Regions from separate parts of the Homo sapiens genome. Here all the other regions are linked to region 3. Evidence: promoter capture Hi-C in 16 types of primary human blood cells and fetal thymus (Javierre and others, 2016). All regions are on one chromosome and are shown on one strand. Each heading gives the region's core, a stretch centred on a gene start or on the middle of the fragment in contact. The rest is flanking DNA. Distances are from core to core; before and after follow the strand shown.

Region 1 (4,564 bases), core at 895-3,394, 140 kb before region 3:
GTATAGAACTTTTTTATCTAGGGGTGGTTCTTCTAGATTGAAATCTCCATCAAAAATTAAGGAAAGGAAAAAAGTCATCTTCCATCCTTTATGGGTGGTGTCTAATGTCCCTCAGTAGAGGAAACAGAACTCAAAGGGAAGCCAGCTAAGTATTTGATGTGTGTTATGCTTTATCCCCACAATAGGCCTGTAAGATAGGTGCTATTATGATCCCTATTTTACGAAGGAAACTGAGGTTAAACAAGTTGCTTGAAGTTTATATAGCCAGTAAGTAGAGCCAGGTTTCAACCCATAGAGTCTTGATTCTCACCGATTTCTCTAGCCAACTGCATTTTTCCTTATTTGGTCTCCTCTTGGGATCTCCCCAGCTGCCTTTGTCCTCAGAAGCTTTCTTCATAGTGGTCCCATCATTATTCGCTTCTTTTTACATGGAAATCATGCATCTATATATATAAAAAGTAAAACAGAAACAAATGCTGACATTTTCCTTTTAATTCACATTTCAAGTTTTCTAATTTGAGCAGTTCCATCTGTCCTCTAGAAAGGGAAATCTTACATTAATAAAAAAAAAAGAAAAGAAAAGAAAACTCAGATTGTATACAAAGAAACTCTTTTCTCTGCCTGTTCTTGGAATTATTCTTCCTCATGGAGGCTAGCGTCTTTAAAAGCCTACTACTGAATGATATGTATTCTTGTAGCATTAGAGAGCGGGGCTTCTTGGGCCTTTCAAGATGAACCACAGGATAGCTAATCCTCCTCAGTTTACTCTCTTCTTAGGCCAGTCTCTGTAAGACATAGCCTTTCTTGAGCTTTTTTGAAATATGTTGTTTATCCATCATCCTTTTAAAGGTTTCAAATAGAAGGCAGTGTGCTCACATTAGACATTAAATGCCAACGTGAAAAGTAAAGTTTCATAGATAAGATCATTGGAATTGGTATGTTTAAAGCCTCCTTGAAAATAATGTTCTTGCTTCATGAACTGGTGTTTTCTTTTTGTATGCTTCATGTAGATGAATGGACAGAGGTGGACAGAAAACGAGGTATGCTATCTCCGGGCTGCATGTGTTCAGTGTGCATCCACAGGTTCACTCAGGCCTTTATCAGCAGGGCTTAAAATGGGACCGCTTGAAACATTTCAAAGTCAAAGTAAGAAAATAGGCATGAGTTTGTCTTTAGCTGAGATATTGGTTATACATTTGAATCTTTTACTTAAGAGGAAGAAATACAGCATGTTAAGATGAAAACTAAGCAAACTCTGACCAAAAAGCCACACTGTACTTGAGGGATATGTCTCCTTTTCTCAGTTCCAAGCTTTGCTGGGACAGCTGGGGCAATAGCCATACTTTGGGGTATGTCATCCTATTTGGTAGTCCTTAAAACAACTTTGTTTTGTCATGTAACCAAAGAATTGTGCTTCAACATGAGTGACCCTCCCTGAGCCATTCTCCTAAGCTCACAGAGCAACCGAGAAAAATTGAAGCATGTAACTGCATGGCTGCCAGGACTGTGGGCAGAAGGCATGACATCATGCATGCAGTGTGGCCTCATCATGCAAAAGCTTCAGTTTCCCCTTACCTACTGCAAGCAGGAAACCTGAAAAAGTTGTCGACTCCTCAGAATAAAGCCTTAGACTTTCTCAGCCTTTAAATAAATCTCAGATACCTTCTGTCATTTGACATTTGGGTGTGGTGTGTGCCTATCATCAGCCATCCTCCTCAATATTTTAAATGCTCTCACCACACCAAGTATGCTGGGAAGACAACCTGTATAATATTTAAGAGGCCAGGTGCAGTGGCTCACACCTGTAATCCCAGCACTTTGGGAATCTGAGGCAGGAGGATCACTTGAGGTCAGGAGTTCGAGGCCAGCCTGGCCAACATGGTGAAACCCTGTCTCTACTAAAAATACAAAAATTACCTGGGCATGGTGGTGGGCACTTATAATCCCAGCTACTTGGGAGACTGAGGCAGGAGAATCACTTGAACCTGGGAGGCAGAGGTTGCAGTGAGCCGAGATCTTGCCACTGCACTCCAGCCTGGGCGACAGAGCGAGACTCCACTTCAAAAATAATAATAATAATAATAATATTTAAAAGCACAGGCATTAAATCAAACAGACCTAATTCTAATTTCAGCTCCATCACCAGCTGTGTGACCTTGGACTTTAAACTCTCTGATTCAGTTTTCCTCCTTAATAGAATGAGGATAATATAAAACGATAAGTGGTCTGGCAGGAAAAAAAAATGAGGATAATAATTCAGAGTTGTCTTGGAGTTTAAATGAGATAATGCATATAAAGTTCTAAGCCCAGTGCCTGGGACATAGAAAGGATTGAAACATGGTAACTATTCAGGAGGGTTTCCTAGCCTCTCTCTAAATTCTTGGCTCCAAATTTCATATTCCCATAAACAAGTCAATTTAGAGCAGAGGTAATTGGTAAAAACTTGATTGCTTTCATCAAGATAATTATTTCATCAGACCAGTCTCGAAAAAAAGCCCAATTGAAGTACTTGGTACACTTTATTACATTTCACAACCATCGTTTGACACTTCTTGAGCAATTTTTGACCCGTCCCTCCCTTGATGCATAGCAGAATTTCAGGTATGAAGTGTGGATTTTGAGAGCTTTTCATATACATAATTGAATCATTGAAATTTATTTTAACATAAATGTTCAAAAATAATGAACAGAAACTGGCTTCATAATCTGAACCCAGGACTAGAAGCTTGCTATGTTGAGAACCCAATTACCAACTTTCTGAGGCTCCTGTGAAAAATCCCTTCCCTCCCCTGCCTTAGCCTCCTTTTTTTTTTTTTTGAGACGGAGTTTCGCTCTTGTTGCCCAGGCTGGAGTGCAATGGAGCGATCCCAGCTCACTACAACCTCCGCTCCCAGGTTCAAGCAATTCTCCTGCCTCAGCCTCCTGAGTAGCTGAGATTACAGGCATGAGCCACCACGCCTGGCTAATTTTGTATTTTTAGTAGAGATGGGGTTTCTCCATGTTGGTCAGGCTGGTCTTGAACTCCCGACCTCAGGTGATCCACCCACCTCGGCCTCCCAAACTGCTGGGATTACAGGCGTGAGCCACTGCGCCCGGCCCCCCTTAGCCTCTTCCTATTGAAATCCGGCTCCTAGTATATTCCGGCCTCGTGAAAAGTATGCAGAACTCATTTGCATGCCAAAAACCAACACTTAGACTAATGGGCGGGTCTGATTAAAACTATTTCTTCAGGGATGTTAGGATGAAGGGAAAAAAATAAAAAACAAATTACTTTTTTTTTTTTTTTTTTTTTTGAGCTGGAGTCTCGCTCTGTTACCCAGGCTGGAGTTCAGTGGCGCGATCTCGGTTCACCGCAAGCTCCGCCTCCCGGGTTCACGCCATTCTCCTGCCTCAGCCTCCCGGTAGCTGGGACTGCAGGCGCCCGCCATCACGCCCGGCTAATTTTTTGTATTTTTTTTTAGTGGAGACGGGGTTTCACAGCGTTAGCCAGGATGGTCTCGATCTCCTGACTTCGTGATCCGCCCGCCTCGGCCTCCCAAAGTGCTGGGATTACAGGCGTGAGCCACCGCGCCCGTACGCTAATTAAATTTTTTAAAAAAACTATTTCTCAGGTTTAACCTAAAGATGATGTGCTGCTTCTCTAGGGCCAGGATAACATCTCCTTCCTCTTTGTGCCTGTGGTGTTTATTTCACTGTCTGGTACCTAATAGGTCTGCCTCAACCAAGGGCTGGGTGAAGCAAATTGTAAGACAAAAACATGTTAACGTGTGCCTCCATCTTATTTCCAAAGAGTGAAACGAGAAGAGGGAGCCCTAGGTGTCGTGGCCCAACCATTAAACTGCCATTTCCTCTTTGGGGGCATTTGTACTCACTGCTCTGCCCACAAGGACAGACCCCGCCGTCCTCTTCCCAGCAGGTGAACTGTCTGGATGCTGGCGCCAGGAGCCATGGTGCTCCAGAGCTTCTTCACTTCCCACGGGGAAAGACTTCATTTTGCTTTTCACTTTGCCCGAGTAGCTAACAATCACCTTGGGGTATTCTTTCGTCCAGAACTGATTTATCTGGGTGTAAGCTATTTCCCTAGCTCCTAATAAGGGCTCAAAGACCCCAGAGAAATGACTCAGCACCTAGGTGAATAGCAGCCCTTTGTAAGCATTAACCTAACCAGAGTTGATGTGATGCTTCAACTTGAATTCTTCTTTGGCACTCCTCCTCCCTGGCTTACGTAAGTCTGTGGAAAATTCTTCATATTCTCTCTTTTGAGGACTTATGTGTGGCTTTTCAATTGTGCCTGTTTCCTTGCAAATGCTACATTTTATGTAGGCTATGGTAAGAAAAAGGTTAGAAAACCCAGTTTATTGCAGGTTCTTTCTTGTTTCAGTGCAATGGAGGTGGTCAGGCATGAGGCAAACCTGACAGAGTTCTATGTCTCTCCAAGCTGTCCACGGTGGGGAAATGTTAGGGCACATCAAGGGCAAGCTGGGATGGTTTGAAATTGTCAGATGTCAGGGACATCCTGTGTTGGTAATGGATTTGGTTCTCCCTCACTGAGTAATAGGATCAA
Region 2 (4,491 bases), core at 1,960-4,459, 210 kb after region 3:
CAGTGTCAGGGCTGCACCCCATAGGCCCTGAGGCACACAGCCCAGCCCCTTGTGAGTCCTGGCCTCTGCTGGGCCCTGAAGGAGCTGAGAGGGAGCTCAACTCCCCACCCCGCCACGTGGGGAGACAGCCCTTCCCACTGGCTCCCTGATGGCACCTGCTGGAGGAAAGGGGCACGGCCTCCCTCACAGCCCTTGGCTGGGGCTCCTCCAGCTCCCCCTGGGACCTCCAGCATATGACAGTGGACTAAGGACTGTGGGGTTTTCCTCCAAGGGGAAGGGAGAAGAGGGGACCATCGAGGTGGCGAGTGTGGACACCCTGCCAGGACTGCAGCCCCCATGGTGATGCTGTGGCATCAGACATGTCCGTGGTGGGCACAGTGCCTGTTGCCCTGGGAAAGGGCAACCTCCCTTTCACTGCTCCAGTGGCAGCCATGGGGAAGGCAGTTTGTGAGGGCTTGGGGCACAGACCTGGGGCAGGAGGCAGCTCTTCACGTTCATCCCTGTCTCTCCCGGGCTGCCCCCGCCAGCTCTGGCTGTTTAGCTTGAGGGCAGCACAGAGGCCCCTGGGACACCTACAGGCCAGAAAGATCAACCTCTGTGAAGTGTCTAGAAGTATCTAGTGCAGATGGTGGCGGAGGCAGAATCGACCATCAGCAAACATGAGCACTCTTCCCTTTCTCCCCTTCCACCTGCTGCGGGCTGGGCTGGTTTTCTCAATACAAAATTGTAAGAGGATCCTTGTCACCCCAGCCAGGTATCCCCAAGGCAGAGCACCTCTCGTTTGGCCCTCTGAACAAGGTGCACGCGAGCTGGGGGATGAAGACGGCTCCCACTTCCTTTTCCTTAATAAGAACCATATGGTGGGTGTATGTGTGTACAAGAGGGGTTCATCTGTGGGGGCTTCCTCTCCTTCCACCCTCTGGTTCCAATTTCCTGTTCTAAGCAGGACTAGGGCCCAGGAGGCTAAGGCTGGGAGAGAAAGGGTGCCAACAGGTCCCTTGGGAATGAGTTGGCTCTGGACGTTTCTGCCCTGTTCCCCGATCAGAGCTCCTCTGCAGGAAACAGGCAGGATGCCCCTCCCAACCCCTCAGTCCCTACGTCAAGCGGAGTGGATAAGGCTGAGATGAGTGCTGGGAGTGGTGGACATTCCTGCTCGTGCAAAGATGGCCACTTTCCCCGCAGCTGCAGGGCCTCGCGCTCGGCCCTCGCCAGGCCAGCCCCACTCCTTGTACCAAGTGTGAACTGGGGTCATTCGGTCTGTGATCTCGTTGCACTGCTCCAAGTCTGGCTGTGTCCAGGCGGTCCATGTTGAAAATGGAGGATGGCTGCTGACTTCTGACTGGCTGAGCAGTGGGTTCCTTCAGGTTCCTTGCCAACCCTCCTCCCCTGCCCACAACTTCTCCAAACAAAGCAGGCTGTTTGCTCACTTCTTCAAAAGGAGGAATGATAACCCAAATCTGCCCAAGTGACACTTGAGAAGGTTTTGGCTGGGGTTCCTGGTGGATTTCTTACTACCTAACGCCCAAGAAAACCAACTAAGGACTCTCAAACCATACCTGGTGGGGGTTCTTCGCTCAACCTCTTCTTCCCTAGGTCAAAGCCACTATCATCTGATGTGTTAGGGATGGGTTCTGATTGGCAGAAATTAATCAGCTCCCAATGGGAGCCCACGGAACTAAGTAGGGTCCCAAGAAAAAAAACGGGAGCTATTTCACAGAGCTGAGCTTCTGCCAAATTTCATTCCTCAAACCTTTCAGGAGGGGTGGTTGGCGTTTCTAAAATGTTTATGGGATTTGAGTTGCAGGTGTCCACTTAACTGACTAGCTTTGATAAACAATGTCAGATTTTAACTATGAAAACGACATTACCTTGTGCATTTTTATATTGATTCCTATTTTTTTTTTAAGATTAAAGTTTAAATGTTTTCCACTAGTCATTTCACTTCTAACTTGGTATAGGAAGCTTAGCTCTCTACATACCTATCATGTGCCCTGTATCACAGAAGATTCAGGAAAAATGCACTTGGGAATCAAAGAAAATGGAACTTCTTTTTGAAAAGACAAGCAACCATGTTAACTGTATTGACACATCCTCAATAAAACCTGTTGTATAAAACAGCACTGTGCTGAAACTGATACTGACACAGAGGTATCTCAAGCCTCTGGGTTCTGTAAGGTGTCCAGGAAGCTCTCTGGGGCTTGTGTGCCTGCTCTTAAGGATCATGCACTCCTCACCAGCTCCCTAACCTGGATTTCTGTCACCACCACATCACAAATGCCTGATGCTCGTAAGCTGCTGAGGCCATGCGCCAGGCAAATGCCAGGAGGCATTTTAAGAAACCAAAGGCAGGTAGTGGCTGGAGCTGGGGGCGATGGCTCAATCTTTACTGGAATATTCCTGCAAGCTCTCAGGGCTAGTGGAGCATGACAGCTGGCTCAGTAGTCCGAGGGCCAAGTTTCAACATCTGATACAAATTATGAATGAAATCATGAATCTTTGCTCCTAAGGGCTGGGCTAGTGTCAGGCCCAGTGCTGAAGACAGGCTGGGGGAGCTGTCCTGGGCGGAAAGCACCTGCTCACAGCCTGCCATGCTCAGCCACGAAAGATCTGTCCCTGGCGCTGGGGGTCTGGGTGGCAGACCTGAAGCAATCTGTGTTTTGAAGAGTCCTCAGCCTAGCCAGAACCCTATCTTCACTAAAACAGATCTGCCCGAGAGTGCTGAAACCGCAGGGCAGCTGCAGACTGCACATGCTCGGCTAGCCACTGAGGCTGGATGCTCAGAGAATGTCCCTGGAGTTTGAGGGGAGGCATCTTCCCCCTTTCAATTTTCCCTTCTTCAGAATGGATGCTAGTCTCAGATACTTGGGAACCCATGTGGGAGGATCGCCTGTGCAATAGAGTGAGACCCCATCTCTAAAAACATGCTGTGTAAAACTTCCTTGCAGGGAAAGGCTTTTGATTGGTCCCAAGATACAGGAGGAGGCACACGGCACTCAGTCCACCCGGGGCCCCGTGATGGTGCCCTCCCCACCCAAAGGTTGGTAGTCTGATGATAGCAGGGCCCTCTGGATCCTTCTACAGGGTTCCTGTTCCTGGCCCAGCTGGGCCTAGCTCCTGTTTGGGGAAGTCAGGCTCTGAGAACAGAAAAATCTGGCTTGTTCCTACCCGCTGCCTCTGGCAAAGCACTCGGCCCAGCAGCCTGGGCCACTTTGAGTGATCTCTAACAGGAAAAGCCACCAGACCATGCCTGCTGTGCCCTTCCTGGCTGAACACGCAGCCAGCTGGAGTGCCTGGCAACACAGCAGCTCATGGCCTTGGGGCCCCAGCTTCTATGACAGTGCAGCACAGACAAAGGCACTAGTCTTCAGAGATCAGGCTGGCAGGGGAGAATCCATTCAGGGCAGGAGAAACAAGAAACAGTGGTGAGATTTACCAAAAACTGTTTATTGCGACTTCCACTGGAAGCTGTTAATAAGCCACATGGCAGCCAAGAGCCAGGTGTGACCTAGATCAGCTGGATGCAAGTGCCTGTCCCTTCATCCACACAACCTGCTGCTCGGGGACCCTGCTAGGATGCGCTTGCTGGCAAACTGGCTAAAACCCAACAGGGAGAAATGATGCTACTGCTCATCATTTCCACCTCCCCACATCCCATGTCCAAGACAATACAGGAAAATGCCACAAGTACCCCTCCAAAATAAACCCGCCTGCGTCTGTCTGTCCTACTGAGGAGCCAGGAGTGTCCTACGGCTCTGCAGCAAACCAGAGACCCAGCACCAGCGAGGCACCAGTCCCTTGCTCGCTGTTCCAGTGACCTCCCCTGCAGAGACCCCAGCCTCACCGGTGTACTCAGTCAGCTCCACAATGCAGGAAAAGTGGGAAGCCACACTCAAGGAAGCGCAGGGTTTCTGATTGGAGCTGTAGTTGGTCCCAGGGGACCTGGCAGAGCCCCAACAGCTGTAGCCCTCATCAACTCTTCTGGAAGACACGGTGCAGGCTTTGGGCCAGGATGTCTGTCTCCTCGTAGCCTTCACAGCTTTGCTGCCAGCTCTCTGGCACCTGATCCATCCCATAGTAGGCACCAGCAATGGCCCCAGCCATGGTGGCAATGGTGTCTGTGTCCCCACCAAGTGAGATGGAATAAATGAGAGTCCTTTGGAGGCTATTGAAGGCAGAAGGGATCTCAGGGTCTGGCTCCATGCAGCGTAGGAAGCAGTAGATGGCGGTGGGTACCGACTCAAAGGCAGCAATGCCATTCCCTGTGGGGAAGCCAGGTTAGAGGGGCTGCATGCTTCCCCAGGCCTCCTACCATTTGACACAAGTCAGCACTCTCGGCTTCAAGCAGGCTGTGACTAAGATCTCAGGCTCTACAGTTAGACCACCTGGGCTCAAATCCTGGCTCCACCACACACTGGCTGCGTGACTGGGAGAGTTACCTAGGGGACCGCTAAGCTTCCTGCTCCCAGATTCAACTCCTTAAGCAGACAGGGA
Region 3 (4,548 bases), core at 854-3,353:
GTGGTGGGAGTACAAAGTTGTCTGGAAAAACTCCTCTTCGTCCTTGACACTCTCCTTCCCACCAGCCCTTATCCTCTGTGGTCTGGAAAAGAAACACGCCAGTGGGGAGGTGAGCCAGGTCCCCCAAGGTCCTTTCCGGGGTCCCACTCCTTCTTATGGATATAATTTCAACGTTTATTTTAGATTCAGGGGGTACATGTGCAGGTCTACCCTTTCTCAACACCGGCTTCCCTGGGCCCCCCCACCCTGTTCGTCTCACACCTTGCTGAGTACTTTTACCACGTCCCCCCTCCGCAGCGCCAACTCGTCTGGGGCCTCAGGCTGGTAGTCAAACAGGACCCTGTAGACCTCAGGGTGGGAGACTGGGAAGAGGTCAGTCCACTGTCCTCTGAAGCCAAGCCTCCCCCATCCATCAGCAGCCCCCACCTCCATCAGCCTAGCTGGCCCACCAAGTCACAACCTTGGGAGTGGCTGAGGGAGTGGGGGACCCTTTGGATGGGTGCTCACCTGTCTGCAGGTAGTCTGGAGGGCTGTCATAGGCCAGGCTGCTCAGCTAGTGGGGGAAGGGGCAGGGAGGAACTAGATGAGCCTCCAACCACCCCAAGAGGAACTCACCACCTCTGTGCCTACTCTGAGCCAACTTACCTTGGGAGGCCGCTGGGGACCAGGGCTGACTGAAGGCATGTCTGGGTTACCAAGGCCTAGTGGGGGACAGTGAGGTTAGGGAGGGTGCTAATTCACAGGTTAGGTCATGGGAGAGGGTCAGAGGGGTCACAGGGTCAGGATATGTGAATCACAGGCTCATGCCACTGGGAGGGTCATTGGAGATTGCGAGTCACAGGGTCACAGAGTCGAGGTCTCACTTGGGGGCCCACTGTCCAGCAATTCCACAAAGTTGGATGGGAAGGCTCCCAGCTGCCCGTTCTTCTTCCCCAGCCACCAGCCGTCCTCAATCTGGGGAGAGGGGAGGACGCAGAGGCGTCTGGTTCTGCCCCAAGAGTCCCTAGGATAATCTGCCACCCTTGGTTCTGCCCAAGCGCCCCTTCCTCCCTCCTTCCCTCCCGCGCTTCCCCGTATCTGCACCGTCGCCATTCCCACCGTCCACACCCTCACTTCCCACCCCGCTCACTAGGGAGGCGCGTTCCATCATCCTCCCCCAAACGGTCCCATCACCTCACCCCTCACCTCCTTTATCATTTCCACGATCTCCCCAGCTTGCAGCTTCAGCTCGTCCGCCTGCTCTGGGCTGTAGCTGAAGTTCACTTTGCACCATCTTTGGGGCCTCGGGTGTTTGGCAGGATGACCTAGCACCGGACAAGCGCGGCTGAGCTCCAGTCGGACGCCCCAGTCAGAGGAGCTGGGGGAAGCGCAAGGCGCGCACGTAGCCTTTGGTCCCTCCAGCCCCGCCCCAGGGCGGAGCATTGCACTCGAGAACCAATCACAGACCGCAGGGCGGCCCCGAGGTCCCGCCCAGAGCCGCGCCCGTCACTAAGAGCCGGAGACGCCGGGGTCGCACTGGCTCCGTGCACCCGCCCACCGGCGCCCGTCCCCGCCCTTGCGCTCACCTCGGCGGCGCGCACAGCGCGGCCTCCGCGCCTCTCCGGAGCCCCGCAGGGTCTCTGGGATCTCCTGGGAATCAGGGCACGGGGAAGGCGCTCTCAGCTCCCGGGGGGCGCGCGCTGAGACCCCACAGCCCGCCCCTGGCTCGGCCTCACCTGCACCAGGCGCTCGGGGAAGAGGCCATAGCGGCCCCCAAACTCTCCGCGAAGCCAGCCCCGCGCGGGCACCCAGCGCACCTGCCGGACCACGTCCCCGGGCGCCAGACTCAGCTCGTCCTCCTTCTGCGCGCGGTATCCGGCCAGGACGAGGACTTCTGCGGGCGGAAGACGGGGCCGGCGTGCGGCTCAGAAAGGCCCAGCCGGGCAGCCTGGCTAGGGCGGGCGTGTCCCCAAGCACCGTAGAGGGCAGCGGGGGTCGGGGGGTGGTGTGGGCTCTTGCTATGTCCACGGTTGCAGAGAGAGGCCACCTCAAAGCCTCCGCACTTACCCATGGTTTCCGGGGCGCCCTCCAGAGCCTGGCAGCTCCCTCTGACGGCCGAGTACTGGGCCCGCGCAGGGTGCGACCTGAGGCAAGACAGTAGGGTAAAGGAGGCGTAGCCGCCAGCCGATAGGTCGGGCCAGGTGCTGGGAGTGGGTGTGGAGAGGGGGCGGCCCGGCTCAGCAGGTCCGGCCCCCAACCCCGGGGTGAGGAGGACTCCAGGGTCTCTGGCCTGTGCAGCGGTCACAGCTCCGTCACAGGTTCTTCCGCCCACCTAAATTTTAGGCCAGCCGCCTCTCCCTTTCCCTCAGCTTTTGCCCGGAGGCTCCCAGCTACAATTTGCACAGAGCCTTTCCAGGCCCACCCTTCCCCAGCTCACAAGCTTTTGGCTTGAGGGGAAAAGGTGGGGAGAGGCACATACCAGGGTGGGGCCCCCCAGCAAGTAGCAACCGCTCTAAACCGGCCTTGAGTGAATGAAGTGGCTGCCCTTGTACCAGCAATAGCTTTGAGTGGACACTTCCAGTCTGCTTTCCTTCAAGGCGTACTCCTCTCTGGCCCCGTACCCACTCTCTACCCCCATATAGGAAGGACACAGCAAAGACCCCTGCTTTGGGGCCAGAGGTCTAGTTTGGTTTCAGAAAACACCTCCAGGTTTTCCCTGGGAGTTAGGCCGGGAGAATGAATTTTACCAGCTTCCAAGATTTCTGCTCACAGTTGAGTCCCCAGCCGGCAGGAGTCTGAAGGTTAGGGCCCACCCTATGGCCAGTCCATGTGGGATAGGCTCTTTCAGGTAGAAGGCTGAGCCTACTAACCACATCCCTTGATCCCTGCCCCACCACCATGATGAAGGAAGCCAAAGTCCTTGCCTATGACACCAGTGGAAAAAATCTGTTTCTCCTGGGGTGTCCAAGGTACACAATGCTCCTCCCAGGAAGGACTGTGTCTGTCTGGGACTCCAGCAGCCTGCGCAAGGCCCCACAGGCCCTTTGTCTTTCAGGTTTTCTGAAACTGCCGTGGGAAGTTATCTACCACCCTCAACACACACACACACTCAGGATGACAATGAACAGAACCCGTTTACATCTGCCACTTCATTTATTTTATTTGCAGGAGGAGTTGAAACAAATTTTAAGGGAGATTTTCATTTTCCCCCTAAACATGAATCATTCAAGTAAAACCAACTTAACTATAGAAATGTAGCAAAGTAAGGGGAAAGCAGCACAACAACGCAAGAGGCAAAGGCTGGGGGGGAGAGGTGGGTGCAGTCCGCATATAACATATGCATAAATGCCTTATGATTCACCTGCTCAGGACCGCCTCCCCAGAAGGCAAGCACAAGGACCCATTTTAAGAGGATGTTTCCCCCCAAACATCTGAGAATGCTTCAACTTAAACAGCTTAAGGTTAAAAAGACAAAGAAAAAAAAAAAGAAACCCAAAAAAACCCCTGAACCACCCAGCCATAACCACCTTCCTTAATCGATCATAGGAGTTTCTTTTCATTTTATAAAAAGATTAATAAAAAATATTGAAAAAATTTTCTCATATTTGTAAAGATAATAGAATTCATAAGTTTCTTAGAAAACAGACCAGACACTGCCCTCCAGTTTCCACCCCGTTGCTGGGAGGATCAGCAGGACTAGAAAGTTTGGGATACTGGAGCTGCTGGTGGAGAACGGGGAAGTCCAGCCCAGAAGAAATCAGGAAATAGGGCTCAGGGGCACGTGAGGTGTGGTAAGGAGCAACTCCACGTGATACATGGCTGCGCAGAAAAGGGGAACACAAGGTGGTCGGAAAGGCCTTAAACTCCTCCTTGACATACAAAACCGGTTTTTACAAAGATCCAAGCAGTTTGGTCCCAAACTGAGGTGAACACTTCAAAGTTTATTCACATGCTTTTGTTTTCTCTTTCAAGAATCAAAGTTTCCCAAATTAAATGTTTCTAATATTACTACATATGCCTAAAAAAAGAAAAAAAAAAAAAAAAAGGAGGGGGCTTTTAAAATCAGGACAGGGGAAAAGAGATCGAAAATCATCAAATTAGTCATCTTAGCTCCAAATGAAATGAAATTAGAACAAAACTGTTGGTTTCTAATAGGAAACAAAAATCCAAGCATCGCTCTCCCGCCCTACCCCTGCCCCCACCCCACACACCAACAAATGAGAAAAACAGCTAAAGCCCAATGCGTTGTATTCTGCTCAAAAGCTGGGCCTGACCCCTGGGCCCCATGGCCAGCCTCCTCTGTCCAGTGGGAGACAGCGCCAGGGATGCCTCTCGCGGTAGTACAATCTGTGCGGCTGGTGGGGGGTGGGGGTAGGATTTTCAGAATCTTCTTGAGGTTCCTCTGTTAAGCTCCTCACCAGCCATCTTCCCAGCGCCTCTCTCCCCTGGGCAGGAATCCCGTCAAGGGTGGCCCCTACTCGGTTGTGGGCTGTATATTGTCCTTCTCTTCTCGGTTCTCTGTCCCACTCTCGTCGTCTTCAATCTCCCCTTCCTCCCCACTGAACTTGT
Region 4 (4,387 bases), core at 1,190-3,689, 190 kb after region 3:
CAGCTGGGGGTGAAGGTTAAGAACAGAGTCCCATTGAAGTCGGCTCAGGCACCGCCCTGGCTTACCCACTCACCCCAGCTTCCTATTTGTAAGACAGAGGGGGCCTTGGCCCACTGGAGTGGACTCCTGAGGCACCTGATAGTAGCTGCCCACTCTGCTCCCAGCCTTGCCTGTCCCTGGTGCCATCTAGGTTGAGGCAGCACAGGTGGGGTAGAGCAGGAGTAGGGGGCAGGGCCCGTGGCTGAGGTCTTCAGGGAGCCCAGGTATACAGGGCTTTAGCCACCTGGGGGCCAGGCAGAGCTGGGTTCAGATCCCACCTCCTTCACTTCCTAGCCTGGTTTCCTTAGAGAATGGATGTGACCTCTCTGGGACCCAGTGCTCCTCCTCAGTAAAATGGGACAGCAGTTCCAACCTTCCAGGGTTACAGGAGCCAATAGTGCCAGGAGTGTGCCTAGTGCTATGTCCAGTGCATACAATGAACTTGGGATGCAGACACCGTTGTTCTTAACGGTTAACATGGGGGAAGGGAATGGGGAAGCAGCTTTAGGTAGGATCCGCATCTCTGATCCTGATATTCAAGGCATTTCTCAGTCTGGCCCCAGCCAGGTCTCCTCTCCTCAAATCATCTGTATGGTGAAAAGCCTAGGCTTTGGAGCCTGCAGCCAGGGTTCAAATTCAGGTTCTACTTTTTTTTTTTTTTTTTAAGAGATGGGGGTATCACTATGTTGCCCAGGCTGGACTCAAACTCCTGAACTCAAGTGATTCTCCTGCCTTGGCCTCCCAAAGTGCTGGGATTACAGGTGTGAGCCACTGTGCCCAGCTCCAGGCTCTACTTTTCATGAGCTGTGTGATGTTGGGCCAGTTACTTATCCTCTCTGTCCCTTAGTTTTCTCATCTGTAAAAAGGGAAGATGAAATACTTTTGTCACTGGGTTGTTGTGAGGATTAAATGAGATAATTCATGAGAACACCCAGAACGGTACCTGGCACACAGTGGGTACACAATGAATATTAGCTATGATTAGTTAGTTCATGTGTTTGTCTATTTTATTTGGATTCTCTCCATCCCCTGAATATATTCAGGGCTTTTACACTCTCACACATGCTGTTGCCTTGGCCCAGGACTGATCACCTCTCTCCACTACCAACCAGTTAAATCCATGTTCATCCTTCAAAGCCCAGAGCCAGCTTAAGTCATTTCTTCTCCCAGAGTCTCATGGTGCAGGGACGGGGCTGGGGCCGGAGAAGCTGGGGCTAAGCTGAGCTGGAGGGTCCTCCTACCTGGGCTCCATCATCCAGGCTGTGGCCCCATGACCCAGCTCTGGGGTCATAGTGTTCAGAGTGGCAGGATGGAGGCAGGGCTCAGCTGAGTTGGAGAGAAGGCCTAGTTGCTGCTGGCTCCAGCATCTGGCTGCTTGTGCAGCTACAGACAGGACTGGATGTCAGAGTTTCCATGGGAGCAGGCAGAGGCAAGCAAGCAGCTGGGGGAGAGAGTGACGCGGCCTGCAGGCCTCCCTGCCAGGTGGGCTGGCTGGGCATCCCCTCCCCATCTACCCCGGAGTCATGTCTGGGTCTGGACTTTAGCTCTGGATCCTCTGCGTACAGCTATGTGACCTGGACTACGACTTTTGTTAGATCCTGGCACCACACCTGATTGAGGCAGAAATGGGGACCTAGCCATCCAGGGCTCTGACCACATCACTTCCCCCACTAAATAACCCTCCATGGCTCCCCATTGCTCTCCAGAGAAATGCAAGCATGGCATTCAGATTTCCTCACCATGTTGCCCCAGCCTCCCCATCCCACAGCACTTCTGGACCTTCCCTGTATATTACTACCTGAAATTCCTTCTATCACCTCATCTGCCTTTCAGACTCCGACTCATCCTTCAGGACCCAGCTGCAGTGTCCCTTTCTCCATGAAGCCTTCAGGGGAAGCTTAAGTCGGCAGTATTCCCTGCTTCATGCTCCCACAGCCCAGAGATCTTTGCCAATTGTGTGATGACCGCTTGTCTGATGCCCCCAGCCCTTCAGGGCAAGGCAGGGCAGGGTATGGGGTTGAACCATTTCTGTGGTCCATGACCCAGGCTTGGGTCCTCCACATAGTAGAAGCTTCCCCAGCAGGGATCCTAACCCAAAGTAGGGGCCACCCCAAACCAGAGCTGACATATGGGAGGGACTTCTCCAGCATGGGAACCCGGGACACAGAAGGGGCATCCTCAGCCTGGGCCCTAGGACAGTAGGAACTCCTTGAATCCAGGGCCAGGCACCCCGTGGGTATTGCTAAGTGTGCACTGAATGAATGGAGTTGTGGAGTATGGGGCACATACCCTGCTTCCCTCAGGGGAGGAGGGAACTGAGAAGAGAGACTGAGACTGGGGCCGGGTTTCCAGCAGGGGGTTCTGGTAAGAAGCCCGGGGCAGGCACTGGTGTGGCTGTGGGTTAGGGCAGGAGGCTTCCCAGGCTCCTGATGTCATCGTCTCACTGTTCCTCCTTTTTTTTTTTTTTGAGACAGAGTCTTGCCCTGTCTCAGGAGTGCAGTGGTGCAATCATAGCTTACTGCAGTCTTGAACTCCTGGGCTCAAGCAATACCACCCACCTCAGCCTCCTAAGTAGCTGGGACTATAGGCGTGCACCATCATGCCCAGCTAATTTTTTAAAATTTTTAGTACAGACAATGTCTCCCTATGTTGCCCAGGCTGGTCTCAAACTCCTGGGCTCAAGCAGTCTTCCCACCTTAGCCTCCCAAAGTGCTGGGATTACAAGCTTGAGCCACTGCCCCATAGCCTCACTGTTTCTCTTGTTCATCCTCAGGCCCTGCCTCTGCTGGAACCTTCCCAGGCCCCTCCGACCTGAAAGGTAAGCTAGGTTTGGGGATGGGGTTTTCTGATATCTCAGGCCAGATGAGGCCTGTGTTCATTGCTGTCTAACCTCACTCCCTCCTGCTGCACCGGAAGCCCCTCCCAGGCCCAGAGAGTCCTGTGAGCCACCCCTTTTGTATGTGACCTCAGCTCCCTGCAGCCCGGGCTTTAAAACCCTGGCCCAACTCGGAAGCAGCTTTTTCTCATTTGTGAACTATTTCGCCTGGCTCCTTGGCGGGGCCGTGTTTGCTTGGCCCAGCCTGGGTGCAGTGGCCTGGCTGTGCTCCCGCCAGGCCCCCTCCCTGCCCAGCCCAGCCCCTCCTGCTGCCGCTGCTGCCGCCACCACGCAGGGTAGCCGCAGAGGCCCAGGAATCTTGGCAGGCGTGGGGAGGCAGCGGGTGGCGGGTGGCGCTCCGGAAAAGGCTGCAAATGCGAACCAGAAGGTGAGGGATTGGAGGCTGAGGAGGCCCCGCCTGCCCCTGCCTGAGGCCTGGGGGTGGCTGGGTCTGTAGGGGCCCTCGGATGTCCAGTTCCCATCAGAAGCTCAAGGCCTCTGCTGGGAGGCAAGCGACGGCCCCAGCTGAGGCCGGAGCCCCTGGGTGGGGAAGGGCCAGCTGCCTGGCTACCTGCCTGAGGGTACATGGCTGCCCTCAGGTCTGCCCACTGCCGGGCCTTTTCTAGTCCATCTGCCCCTGCCCGGCTGTTCTTACCTTCCTGGGCACTTTGTTATTCTGAGATGCTCCTCCCTAGGGAAGCAGCGGAGAACCTAGACTCAGAGATGGGCAGAGGCCAGGGGCTTGGTCACCTGCAGGAGGGAGTTCGGTCCAAGCCCCCTCCAGCCCAGAACCAAGAAGGACTCAGGAAGAGCAACAAAGAGAAAGTGGCCCTGTGATAAGCCACCTGAGGGCTTGGCTGGACAAGGGAGGTGGGTTTTTCAGAGGCCTGGACCTGGAGCCCCCAGGCTACAGGCTTCATCGAGCACATGCCCTGTGCCCGCCTCAGGCAGGAGGGAGGTGTGGGTGGGGAAGAGGTGCTTTCATGCAGGTGGGTGCCCAGAAGGAGCTGTTCTGCCTGAGGGAGGCAGGGAAGGCTGCTTGGAGGAGGAGGCTTTTGAGCTGGGTCTTAAATGAGAACTAATATGTTTCCATGGAGGAGAAAGGTAGAAAGGGCAACCCAGCAGAGAGGATCATGCAGGAAAAGGCAGGGACAGGGAGGCAGTGAGACGTCTGGGTTGTCTGGATCCTAGTGTGTTGGGGGAGGAGCCCAGGGCTGTGGTGGGCTCCACTCACTCCCTAAATGTAGGCGTGTTCCCCAAGGGGGAATCCGTGGGCCTCCTCCAGGCTGCAGCAACCCCGCCAACGAACCTGTATTTTTTTTTTTTTTTTTTGAGATGGAGTCTCGCTCTGTCGCCCAGGTTAGAGTGCAGTGGTGCGATCTTGGCTCACTGCAAGCTCCGCCTCCCAGGTTCCCGCCATTCTCCTTCCTCAGCCTCCCGAGTAGCTGGGACTATAGGCGCCCTCTACCACGC

What was found. Contacts are between HindIII fragments. The CHiCAGO score rates a contact against its expected background, and 5 or more counts as called.
Region 1: a contact is called between a fragment that was not itself captured here and the fragment with the promoter of SH3D21 in region 3, in 9 of 17 cell types (M1 macrophages, M2 macrophages, erythroblasts and 6 more). The highest score is 7.3, in M1 macrophages.
Region 2: a fragment that was not itself captured here is called in contact with the fragment with the promoter of SH3D21 in region 3 in 3 of 17 cell types (endothelial precursors, activated CD4 T cells and non-activated CD4 T cells); the score reaches 7.1 in endothelial precursors.
Region 4: a contact is called between a fragment that was not itself captured here and the fragment with the promoter of SH3D21 in region 3, in 2 of 17 cell types (erythroblasts and endothelial precursors). The highest score is 6.0, in erythroblasts.

What each region holds. Positions count from the first base shown.
Region 1 is chr1:36,440,480-36,445,043 of GRCh38, reverse strand. All of the region lies in intron 1 of OSCP1 (organic solute carrier partner 1), which reads left to right. It overlaps LOC107984940 (a long non-coding RNA gene), which reads right to left. Exons shown (of 3, transcript XR_001737976.2): 2 at 311-443. Among named protein-coding and RNA genes, the nearest start is that of OSCP1, 7.7 kb to the left of the region's middle. The HindIII fragment of the contact is 1,167 bases long and covers 1,561-2,727 here.
Region 2 is chr1:36,092,865-36,097,355 of GRCh38, reverse strand. It overlaps ADPRS (ADP-ribosylserine hydrolase), which reads right to left. Exons shown (of 6, transcript NM_017825.3): 6 at 3,424-4,259. The coding sequence ends at 3,970. COL8A2 (collagen type VIII alpha 2 chain) reads left to right here. Exons shown (of 4, transcript NM_005202.4): 4 at 1-2,117. Among named protein-coding and RNA genes, the nearest start is that of ADPRS, 6.2 kb to the right of the region's middle. The HindIII fragment of the contact is 2,490 bases long and covers 1,965-4,454 here.
Region 3 is chr1:36,303,923-36,308,470 of GRCh38, reverse strand. It overlaps SH3D21 (SH3 domain containing 21), which reads right to left and starts at 2,103. Exons shown (of 16, transcript NM_001162530.2): 1 at 2,047-2,103; 2 at 1,716-1,873; 3 at 1,566-1,629; 4 at 1,186-1,304; 5 at 864-954; 6 at 646-701; 7 at 508-553; 8 at 262-362; 9 at 1-82. The coding sequence starts at 2,050. THRAP3 (thyroid hormone receptor associated protein 3) reads right to left here. Exons shown (of 12, transcript NM_005119.4): 12 at 3,114-4,548. The coding sequence ends at 4,454. RefSeq lists enhancers at 1,203-1,252, 1,055-1,855 and silencers at 1,353-1,792, 2,013-2,062. The HindIII fragment of the contact is 29,085 bases long and covers 1-2,421 here.
Region 4 is chr1:36,114,178-36,118,564 of GRCh38, reverse strand. It overlaps COL8A2 (collagen type VIII alpha 2 chain), which reads left to right. Exons shown (of 4, transcript NM_005202.4): 2 at 2,813-2,857. Among named protein-coding and RNA genes, the nearest start is that of COL8A2, 8.9 kb to the left of the region's middle. RefSeq lists enhancers at 2,695-3,635, 3,636-4,387. The HindIII fragment of the contact is 654 bases long and covers 2,113-2,766 here.